Regions from separate parts of the Homo sapiens genome. Here all the other regions are linked to region 3. The links are contacts of gene promoters, found by promoter capture Hi-C in human tissues and cell types (Jung and others, 2019). All regions are on one chromosome and are shown on one strand. Each heading gives the region's core, a stretch centred on a gene start or on the middle of the fragment in contact. The rest is flanking DNA. Distances are from core to core; before and after follow the strand shown.

Region 1 (3,322 bases), core at 381-2,880, 110 kb after region 3:
TGGGCAAAGAACACACACGGTGCACAGCATTACGGGAGAGATGGTCACCCGGAAACCAGGGCTCTCCCTCCCCTTAATCCTGCTCAGCACGGCTCCCTGCCCACCCCTGTGGGCACACCTGAGACTACAAGGGCCTGCTGTTCTCTTGTTGGGGTGGCAGGACCCCGGGTTTGCTGCTGGTCTTGGTCATAGGCTGCTGCATTTCCTTCTTTCTTTACTAACCCGAGGCCAGTCCATCCAGGTTTACCCTCACTCTTTTCACACCTAATCCACACTCTCCTCTCTGCCATAAACCATCTCATCTTCATTATTTGGATGGACCAATCTTTTGATACATTAGGCATCTCCTACACTGTCATCTTTTAAAAAATGGCATGTATTCAACACCTAACTGCAACCCCCTGTAACCTATTCCAGATATACTAGGAAAAATTGCACCCAAAACTTTAGAACTGCTTTAGAATATAAATTCAATCCCTAATTAATGCAAGTCATGGAGGAGAAGAGAGGTGCTGAGCAGGCAGACGTGAGGCAGGGCCTCCACACTGGCGTTTGAGTTGGGAACCCTGATTCCTAACAGGAACCTGCTGGGACTGGCATCACAGCTTTGCCACCTTTTGCCCTGTAAGAAATGGTGATCAGCAGAGGAGGGTCAAGGAGGGCAGCCTAAGGAGGGCAGCTAGGGGTAAAGCAGTCAGCGCAAGGCAGCCTGGAGATGGCATCTTTTCAGCCCCCACGCACCCCCTAGTGGGCAGCACCCAAGGCTGCTGGCTTCACACAAAGCCCCAAGCATTGGCCTCCTCCAGGGTGAACAGAGCCACCTCGAGGCAGCCCTAGATGCAGAGGGACAGGATGCCAATTCCCGGCACAGGTGAGGTGGGCCCACTCACAGAACCTGAGGGCAGCCAACAGGACAAGAGGAAATGGGTTGGCAGAGGAGGCTCCCAGGCCACCCGAGCTGCCGTGGAAGATGTGCCTGGAGTTTCCCGATCTGATGCGTCTTACACAAGCAAGACTCTGCCAAGAGACCAGAGACGCACAGATGTTCTCCTTCTTCCTCCCTTAGGTTGGAGGGGCTTCTCTGAGGCGCCCAGAGTTGGGGGGCCTGGCCGACGACACCAGGGACTCTGTCCCCACTTCAGGCTGCATAATGGTGGTGGTGGCAGGGAGGCACTTGGAGCCTCCCGGGGAGGGGCCTCCTGCCTCCATGGGGCCATGGGAGGCTTGGCAGTTTCCGCCTCTTTGCCTCTGGACAAAAGTGCCTGGACCCAGCCTGGAATCAGCCTTTAGAAAACCCATGACAGGGGTGAGAAACCCCTGTGGTGTTCTGGGAATGTCAGGCATTTTTAATAGAGCAATGGAAAGAAGTCCTGGGGCCAGCAGTCTCCACGCCCCCAGACACAGAGACACAGTGACGCAGATCCCAGCACCCCACAGCAACACAAATGAGACAGGAACGCTAATGTGTAATGCAAAACACCAGGTTAGATTTCTACTTTTGACCAAAAACATCTTTCTGGTCTACTGATAGTTAAATAGTAGACAAGCAAAGATTATTAACTAAAGTCACATTTAAGTACAGAACATTATTCTGCACTTTTGATGAACGGCTTTCAGATTTGGGAACTTCACGGCAAGGCAGCTGGGCAGCAACGGCGAGTTGTCCAGCCAGGCCTGCGGCCTCCCCTGCTGTCATGCGGCTGTGGGACGCAGGTCTCTCCTGTGGGAGGCCCAGGTGTGCCTCCTCCATGCCCTCTTCCCCTTTTCACCTGGACACAGAAGCCATGGCTCTGGGGAAGGCAGAGCCACAGGCGGGAAGAGACCTGGGTCTCTAAATGGCCCACAGGAAAGAGCCACCTGCAGGCCGCACACCTGCCACGACTGTGTGAACAAGAAATGAATAACTGTGTCATGCTATTACCTTAATTCATTGGCATTTTAATGCTGCTGAATCCACCACAAGTCACTCTAATGAACTTCCACCCTTCAGAGTAAAGCAAGTTATGCTGACACCTGTCTGTGTGCATCCTCCTTAAAGTTGGTCACTGGATTGCGGCCGCTTCCTTATGAACAAGAAGTTCCCTCAGTGTCTGTCCCCACTGGACAAAAAGGAAAAGTCCTCCTCGGACTCTCATCTTTCCTGCCTGCACAGCCTCATCCCAAGCCAGCCAGGGAGGTCTGCAGATGGCAGTTTCAAAGGGGCTGTTATTCTTTCCAGCTGTTACTGCTCCCCTGAGCCAGACCCAACCTGCTGGGGCCACACACTTCTGTCCGTAACACCAACAGCCTCTGACCCTCTCTCCTGCCCTCTTCCTCCCCTCTGCATCCCCAGGGGCTACGGTATGCTGGGACAGTGATGAATGGTCCTGGCCCTAATTAGATCAGCCCTGTCCCCTCTTGCCCAGGCACCTGCGGGAGGCTCTGCCAGTCAACTCACCCTGTAGCACATGAGGCTGACCTACCCAGCATCGTCATGCACATGGGGCATCCACTCCGGGTCACACAGGACGCTAAGCACAGGGGAACAGATACAGAAGGACGGTGTCGACTCTGCATCTGGGGCAACCCTCCACAGCTCCTCGCTACACCCCCAGTTAACTGGGGCTTTAAGACATTGCCCAGTGCATCCTCCATCCGCCACCTGTCCGTGTGGCGCCCTGCCACTTCTGGTGTAGGCTAATTCCCCCGCTGCCAGCAGGCTCTGCTGAGGAGACCTCCTGACCCCTGTCCCTCCTAGGCCTCCTCTCCCATGGAGTCTCCCAGCCAGCCCCCATCTCTTCCTCCTCCTCCTATTTCTGTCCCTAGCACAGAGGTTTCCACAGCAGCACTGGGTGCGATGCCTGCACCCAGGACAGAGGAGCTGCTCAATGGCTGAGTTCAGTGGGTCGCAGCCGATACTCGGAAAGCCAGCGGGGACCCCGTGTCTTCTGACTCACTGCCATGGCCGACGCCAGACCTCCTTACTCCCAGCAGCCCTCTGTGGTCAAACAGTAAGGGCAGGGCACCTTTTGGGGTGAGGACACCATTTAATCTCCACCCCTTTGATGAGAATGAAAACTCTTAAAAATACTGTTGAAGGCGGCATGGCAGAGAATGAAGCCTGGAGACTGCAGATGAGCGTGAGGGAGGTGAGCGGGTGGGCTCACACCCAGACCCGCCCCTGACCTCTACCTCTCAGCAGAGTTGGCTTTCAGGCTTTATCTTCAACTTCTGTTAATACTTAAGGTCCACATGCCGCAGCGTGAAACACACCTGTAATTATGGGAGGCCACCACTTACCTCAGGGTTTCTCCACTGGTTCTTGTTTGAATGAAAGCCACAA
Region 2 (3,372 bases), core at 213-2,712, 64 kb after region 3:
CCTCCCTGTCACGGCCTGAACTCGTTCTTCCAGTTTCTTTGGGATCTCCTTGGCCAAGGGAGAGGGGGTCTGTTCAGTTGGTGGGGGACTTAGAATTTCATTTCTGGTTTACACCCTTTATGGTTATCCCAGTTGTGAGGAGGATTCTGGGAAGATGGTGGAGTAGGAGGCACCAGCAGTCTGTCTCCCCATCTGGACAACACCTGCACTGGCAGAATCTGTCTGCCATAACTATTTTGGAACTCTGGAGTCTACCAAAAGCATGAAGGGCAAATTGTGGTTGATTGTGGTCAATTTCAGCTCTTGGCCCCACTGGCAGCCCCACCTCCAGCCCCGCAGGCAGCTGTGCCTGTGTTCCTGGAGCGGCTTGCAAGAGCCAAAGTGGCCAAAAAACCCCAAGAAACAAAAAAGAAAACCCCTGTCATCCAAATACAGTGGATCAGTGCTGAGGACTAAGCTCTGATTTTTTTAATCTTGCCTAAATGCCTATCTGAGGGGTCTGGGGAGTTCATGCCCTACAAACCATAAATTCTCATCATGTGGTTTTTATTTAGCCATACAGATTGTGACTTTCCAATCTGACTCTGGCATAACATCATGTGACAAAGAAGAAAGTTAAAATATTTTACTGCAAAATACGTTTCTTTGCCATATTTTGAAATGGCCCTGCAAAGCTGTCCTTGGTGGGGGAAAATTTGTATCTGTAAAGACTCTCTATTAACATAGCTAGATCTTTTTCTTCCGGGCCCTCCCAGTCCTGAAGAGATTAACTAAAATCTAGTACCTTTTAAAGGTCTGAATAGGACACATTTGTCATCTATTGTCCCTAAGGGCAGCCACCATAAGATTCAAAAGAAACTTTGTCTCCACAATCTTTTATCTTTACCTGAACACTCCCTTTCTATTGACCCCAGGTCTTTAGAAGAACTCAACCAATTGTCAGCCAGAAAATGTTTAAATTCACCAAATCCCCTAGTTGTCCTGCCTTTCTGGACCAAACCAATGTATTTCTTAAATTTATTTGATTGATGTCTCAATATCCCTAAAATGTATAAAACCAAGCTGTACCCTGACCACCTCAGGCACATGTTCTCAGGACCTCCTGAGGGCTGTATCAGGGGCCATAGTCACTCATGTTTGGCTCAGAATAAATCCCTTCAAACATTTTACAGAGTTTGACTCTTTTCATTAACAGTGCTCTAATCACTGTGGCTGGTGACCACAGAGGTGCAGACAAAGAGGTGCAAGTTCAATATTGTTGCACCTTTCTCACTGTTCGGCCGCCACCTACCACTGCCACTGAAGTGACTTCCAGGGGATTTAAAGAGGTGATGCCCTTTTGCCACCCCTTTCATTTTTTTGTCTTTTCCCCTTTTGTGAGCCAGACATTAAACACTAGGACATTTTAAAAAAATGTATACAAGGAAAATTAGAAAATGACCATGTATGCTCAAAGAAAGGACCAGGCTCAGAAGGAACTGAAATGACCTTACGGTTACACCTCAGGCTGGGCCTTGGCACAGAGGCAGCCTATAATAATAATAATAATAATAATAATAATAATAATAATAAAAACCAACAATAAGCAGAAACAATGATATAGGAGTTAAGAAGAAATTAGGCAGATAGTGAGGGAAAGAAAGTCTGTAGTAACGTTTCCTTTTAATGAAAATCAGCCCCCAAATCATTTTCTTTTCTAACAAAGAGCAGCCTTTAAAATCGAGCTGCAGACATAGACAAGCAAGCTGGAAGCTCATACAGGTGAATGCTGGCAGTTGCGCCAATAAGAAAAGGCTACCTGGGACTAGGCATGTTCAAAATGGCAGCTCCGTCTTCCCTTCTTTTGCCAGCCACATGTATAGTAAGGAGCAGGCAAGATGGCGCTGGCCAAGTGGAAAGAACATTTGCATAAGATTAGGGTGGGGTGGCCAGCTTCCCCGACCCGCACACTATGTAAATGTCACACCTGGTCCAACCAATCTGTGGGCCCCATGTAAATGGAATACCACCTCCTCAAGCCTGCCTATAAAATCTGGTGCTCTCTGCCGCAGGCCAGATTTCCCTTTTGGGCACCCCTCTCTGTCTTGAGAGTAAGAGTTCTTCTCCTTTCTCTTTCTTTTGCCTATTAAACCTCCACTCCTAAACTCACTCCTCATGTGCGTCCATGTCCTTAATCTTCTTGGTGTGAGATGATGAACCCCGGGTATTTACCCCAGAAAACAGTGCCGCTTCAACAACATAAAAAGCAAACCCCAAGGGAGGGGGAAAGTCTGCTTTGCAGAGGTGTCACATAATTAGATTCAAATGTCCAATTTTCAACAAAATGTCATGAGGCCTTCAAACAAACAGGAAAGTATGTTCCATTCAATGGAAAAAATAATTAGAAACTGTCCCTGGAAAAGACTTGATAGTAGACCTACTAGGAAAAGACTTTAAAACAACAGTCTTAAAGATGCTCAAAAAACTAAAGAAAGATGTGAAGAAAATAAAGTGATGTATGAAAAAGTGAAAATATCAACAAAGATATTAAAAATCCTAAAAAGAAGCCAAACAAATTCTGGAGCTGAAAAGTATAATAACTGAAATGAAAAATTCACTAAAGGGGTTCAAAGGTGGATTTGAGCAGGCAGAAGAAAGAAAAGTGAACAAAGCCTAAAAGACCTGTGGGATACCATCGAGCAGCCAGCATATGTAAAATGGGAGTTCCAGAAGGAGAGTAAAAAGGCATAGAATATTTGAAGAAATAATGTGTGAAAACTTCCCAAATTTGAGGAAAGACATGAATACAAACATCCAAGAAGCCTGATAAGCTCCAAGTAAGAGGAAGTCAAAGAGACCCACACCAAAACACATTATAATCCAGCTTTTGAATGACAAAGACAAAGAATCCTGAAAGCAGCAAGATAGAAGTGACTCATCACATGCAACAACCTTAATAAGATTGTCGGCATATTTTGCATCAGAATCTTTCAAGTCCAGAAGGCAGTGGGACAAAACATTCAAAATGATAAAAGAAAAAAATCCTGTTGACAAGGACTCATATCTAGCAAAACTATGCTTCAAAAGTGAGAGTGAAATTAAGACATTCCCAGATAAACAAAAGCTGGGGGGATTTGTTACCACTAGACCCACCCTGCAGAAACAACGGAGTCCAGCAAGGTGAACTCAAAGAACATTAGACAGTAACTTGAAGGACTATGAAGAAATAAAGATTTCAATACAGGTAAATATATGCAAATTATGAAAGCTAGTATTATTGTAACAATGGCTTGTAACTGCCTTTTTGTTTTCTACATGATTTAAGACACTAATATATTTATAAGAATTATTAGATTATGTTTAATACTTCATACTACTAGTAATAATTAGTAA
Region 3 (3,261 bases), core at 481-2,980:
CCCCTCCTTCAGGACCCACCACCAGGCTCCCTCCCAGCACCCATTGCCAGGCACCCCGTTCCCCAGGACCCATCACTGGGCACCCCCCTTGGACCCACCGCTAGGCACTCCCCCTCCAGGATCCACTGCTGGGCACCCCCCTTGGACCCACCGCCGGGCATCCCCCTCACCACTGCCTGAGGCTGCCTTGGCCTGGCCCCTTCCTAGCTGCTGCCCTCTCTGCCTCCTTCACGCAGATCTGCTGAGAGGATCCTGCATAAGCCTCCTGTCCCACCATGGGGAGGTCCATGCAGCATGGAGCCCAGGCCTCCCTCGAGGGAGACTGGGAGGATCCCGCCCTGTCAGGCCTTCGGATGAGATGGCACCCTTGGCCAACAGCAGCCCTGAGCCAAAGGCACCGACAGGCTCAGATTTCTGAGCTGAAATCGTGTTTGCTGTTTGAAGCCCCCAAGTGTTGGGGTGAGTCGTTCATCAACAATAGACAACTCCTCACACCACGTAGGCACTTCTGTTTCGTCTGTTTGGTAATTTCCGTATTCTCTTTTTTTAACTGGCATTCTCTCCACATCCCTAAGTCACACATGGCAGCCCGCTTCTTTCCTGGTGGCTCTGACTTTCGGTGCTCTTGCCCCTTGGCGGGGCCGCTGTCCTGTGGCTGTGGCCACACCCGGAGTGAGAGGCTGGAGGCCGTGTAGCCTCATGGCCTTGGACATGAGCAGGCCCCTGGACGATCTCTCCTTGCCTCTGCAGCCACCAGCCCGCCCTCAGTCCCCTCCCCAAGACTCACCCAAGCAGCGTCGGGATCTTCCCGGTCAGCGTGGAGAAGGCCACACTGAGCTCAGTGAGCTGCGCCATCTTGCTGAGCTCCCGGGCGATGGAGGCGAGGAGGGGGTCCTCGCCGTCGGGAGTGGAGGCGTAGGTGGGGGGTGCATCAAAGGCCTTGGTGGGCAGGGTGAGCGAGGCCAGCCGGGGGAAGCCCACCTGGGCCAGAAGCTGCTGCACGTGGCCCGCATGCAGCCGCACGTTGTGCACCACCTCCAGCTTGCGCAGGGCACCCGGGCCAGCCAGACGCAGCACGTGCAGGAGCTGGCTGGGGCTCAGGCTGTCCGCCCGGAACGAGGGGCAGTGCACCCGCAGAGGGGCCGGGCCCGCTGGCCTCAGAGCCTGCACCACCGCCTCGAAGTTGCCCTCAGTGACGAAGAGGTCGGCGAGGACCTCGACGGGGCGCCCGGCTGCGAGGGGCTCTGCCTGCAGCTCACAGCAGGTCCTGGCCAGCAGCTGGGTGCGGCCCCACCTGCCCAGCGCCCTCCCGCACGGGCACCGCTGCACCTGCACATCTCGGATGCCCGTGAGGTCAGCCACCCGCAGCCGCCGGCGGCTCCGGTCCTGCAGCACGTGGTCCGCGAGGCCGCGCACCAGCGCCTCCAGGCAGGCCCTGCAGGTTCTGTCGCGCAGGTCCTGGGGGTGGTCGGCACCAGGACCCAGCAGCGCTCCCAGCCGGAACTCCTCCAGGGGCCAGCGCCCCAGCACCGCGCGCGTCACCTCCGCCTGCTCCAGCAGGTAGCTGGCTTTGAACAGGAGTGGGTAGAGGTTGTGGGCCACGCTGTCCAGGCTCTGCCGGGCCACCTGGGGGTGGGACACCAGAGCTTCTGCAGAAATGAAGCGGAGTGACCTCATTGTGTCCATGGCCCGAGACAGGACCGCTCCCCACGACTTTCCCCAAGGCGTGTGCCCTTCACGCCTATCTTTAGCTGCAGCAGCTGTGAGCAGCCTGCCCTGGGGGCCCTGCCACGGGGCCTTATGATCATCTGACTGCTATTTTGGTCCTGGGACACCTGCGTCTGCCCGGCCTCGGGGCACGCAGCCGTTGGGAGCTGCTTGGCTCAGGCACCCAGCCGTTGGGAGCTGCTTGGCTCAGGCACCCAGCCGTTGGGAGCTGCTTGGCTCAGGCACCCAGCCGACACAGAAAGGCAGCCCGTGCCCATGGCAGGGCTGGGCAGAGAAGCCTGTGCTCCATGCTGCAGAAAGCCAGTCTTGGCAGGCGTTCGTGCTGGCGGCCGGTGAGGCCAGCGGGCAGGTCCTGTTTACCATCCAAGCGGGGCTACTGCCCAGCTCTGGGCACCTCCCCCACCAGTCAACGGGGCAGAGAACAGGCCAGGCCCCTGCGCCTCACTCGGTAACCAGTTCCCTTTCCACAGTGGCCTCTGGGGCCGCTCCCACACTTCGCCTCGCATCTGGGGTGAGACGAGTGGCCAGGAATGGAGCTGCTGTTTTGCCCCTTCCCTGTGCCTTTCCTTCTCCCCAAGGACCCGGCGGGGGTGGCTTCCCTACTTTCCATGGGAGAGAGTGGCTGGGAGAGGTGGAGCCTCCCTGATGGCCTCGGATGAGCCCCCAGCTCTCTCTGAGCTGCAGTGTCCTGTCTGCAACCCTGCCGCCTGTGCGGCAGGGAAAGCTGCAGGGAATGGGATACACCTGTGTTGGGGGGCGGTGCCTGATGGTTCACTCCCAGCACTGACCGTGTTGGACAGCTGATGGGTGCTGCACTCACCTCTCCCCGTGACACTGCCACTCAGGGCAGGGTCAGCACACATCGCTGCACACATCACTGCACACATCACTACAGGGCACCACGTGTCCATGGGCTTTGGAGGGTCACGGCCATGAGACAGAGGCTGAGGGAGACTGAGAGAAGTGAGTGACGGAGACTGAGACAGAGACAGAGGGACAGAAACTAAGAGGGAGAGAGACAGAGACTGAGGGAGAGAGAAAGGGAAACAGAAAGAGACAGACTGAGAGAGAGACAGAAAGGGAGAGACAGAGACTAAGAGAGAGAGAGAGAGACTGGTAGGCAGAGACAGAGACTGAGAAAGACAGACAGACGGGGAGACAGAAAGAGAAACAGCAGTGGGAGGGGGAAGGCTGCTGAGCAAGCTTGGAGGGTGCTGGTCATGGGTGCCCCACCAGCCTCCCTGTCTGACCCTCCCCAGTTTGTTCCCTGAGCCTGAGCAATGCCTCTCCCCGGGAGGCGACCCATGCAGAAGGGACTGTGCTCCGTTGTGGGGCCCAGGCACTGTCCAGCAGGCGGAGGTGTGTGTGAAGAGGTGGGTGGGCCCTGACCCCACCCTTCAGGGGTGGCCGCCCTCGGCCAGCCGATGTGGGCCCCCGGGCTCCCCTCATGAGGTGCACAAGAGGTTTCCCCAGACACACGGCCCCTTTCCAGGACCAGATAAGAGAATCTCGAAGGACACAGTAGAAAAACAT

What was found. The method cuts DNA at HindIII sites, captures the fragments that hold promoters and counts their contacts. A contact is called where the count stands out against the background at its distance.
Region 1: a fragment that was not itself captured here is called in contact with the fragment with the promoter of LRRC14B in region 3 in 3 of the 25 tissues and cell types used here (H1 embryonic stem cells, mesendoderm cells and neural progenitor cells).
Region 2: a contact is called between a fragment that was not itself captured here and the fragment with the promoter of LRRC14B in region 3, in 2 of the 25 tissues and cell types used here (IMR-90 fibroblasts and aorta).

What each region holds. Positions count from the first base shown.
Region 1 is chr5:76,168-79,489 of GRCh38, reverse strand. No RefSeq gene overlaps it. Among named protein-coding and RNA genes, the nearest start is that of PLEKHG4B, 14 kb to the left of the region's middle. RefSeq lists an enhancer at 1,340-2,239. The HindIII fragment of the contact is 3,709 bases long and covers 1-3,322 here.
Region 2 is chr5:125,541-128,912 of GRCh38, reverse strand. The region is part of intron 2 of PLEKHG4B (pleckstrin homology and RhoGEF domain containing G4B); the gene reads right to left. Among named protein-coding and RNA genes, the nearest start is that of PLEKHG4B, 35 kb to the right of the region's middle. The HindIII fragment of the contact is 6,287 bases long and covers 1-3,372 here.
Region 3 is chr5:189,964-193,224 of GRCh38, reverse strand. LRRC14B (leucine rich repeat containing 14B) reads right to left here and starts at 1,730. Exons shown (of 2, transcript NM_001080478.3): 1 at 788-1,730. The coding sequence starts at 1,686. It overlaps LOC124900929 (a long non-coding RNA gene), which reads left to right. Exons shown (of 2, transcript XR_007058670.1): 2 at 237-497. It overlaps PLEKHG4B (pleckstrin homology and RhoGEF domain containing G4B), which reads right to left. Exons shown (of 20, transcript NM_052909.5): 20 at 3,259-3,261. RefSeq lists an enhancer at 2,016-2,065. The HindIII fragment of the contact is 15,773 bases long and covers 1-3,261 here.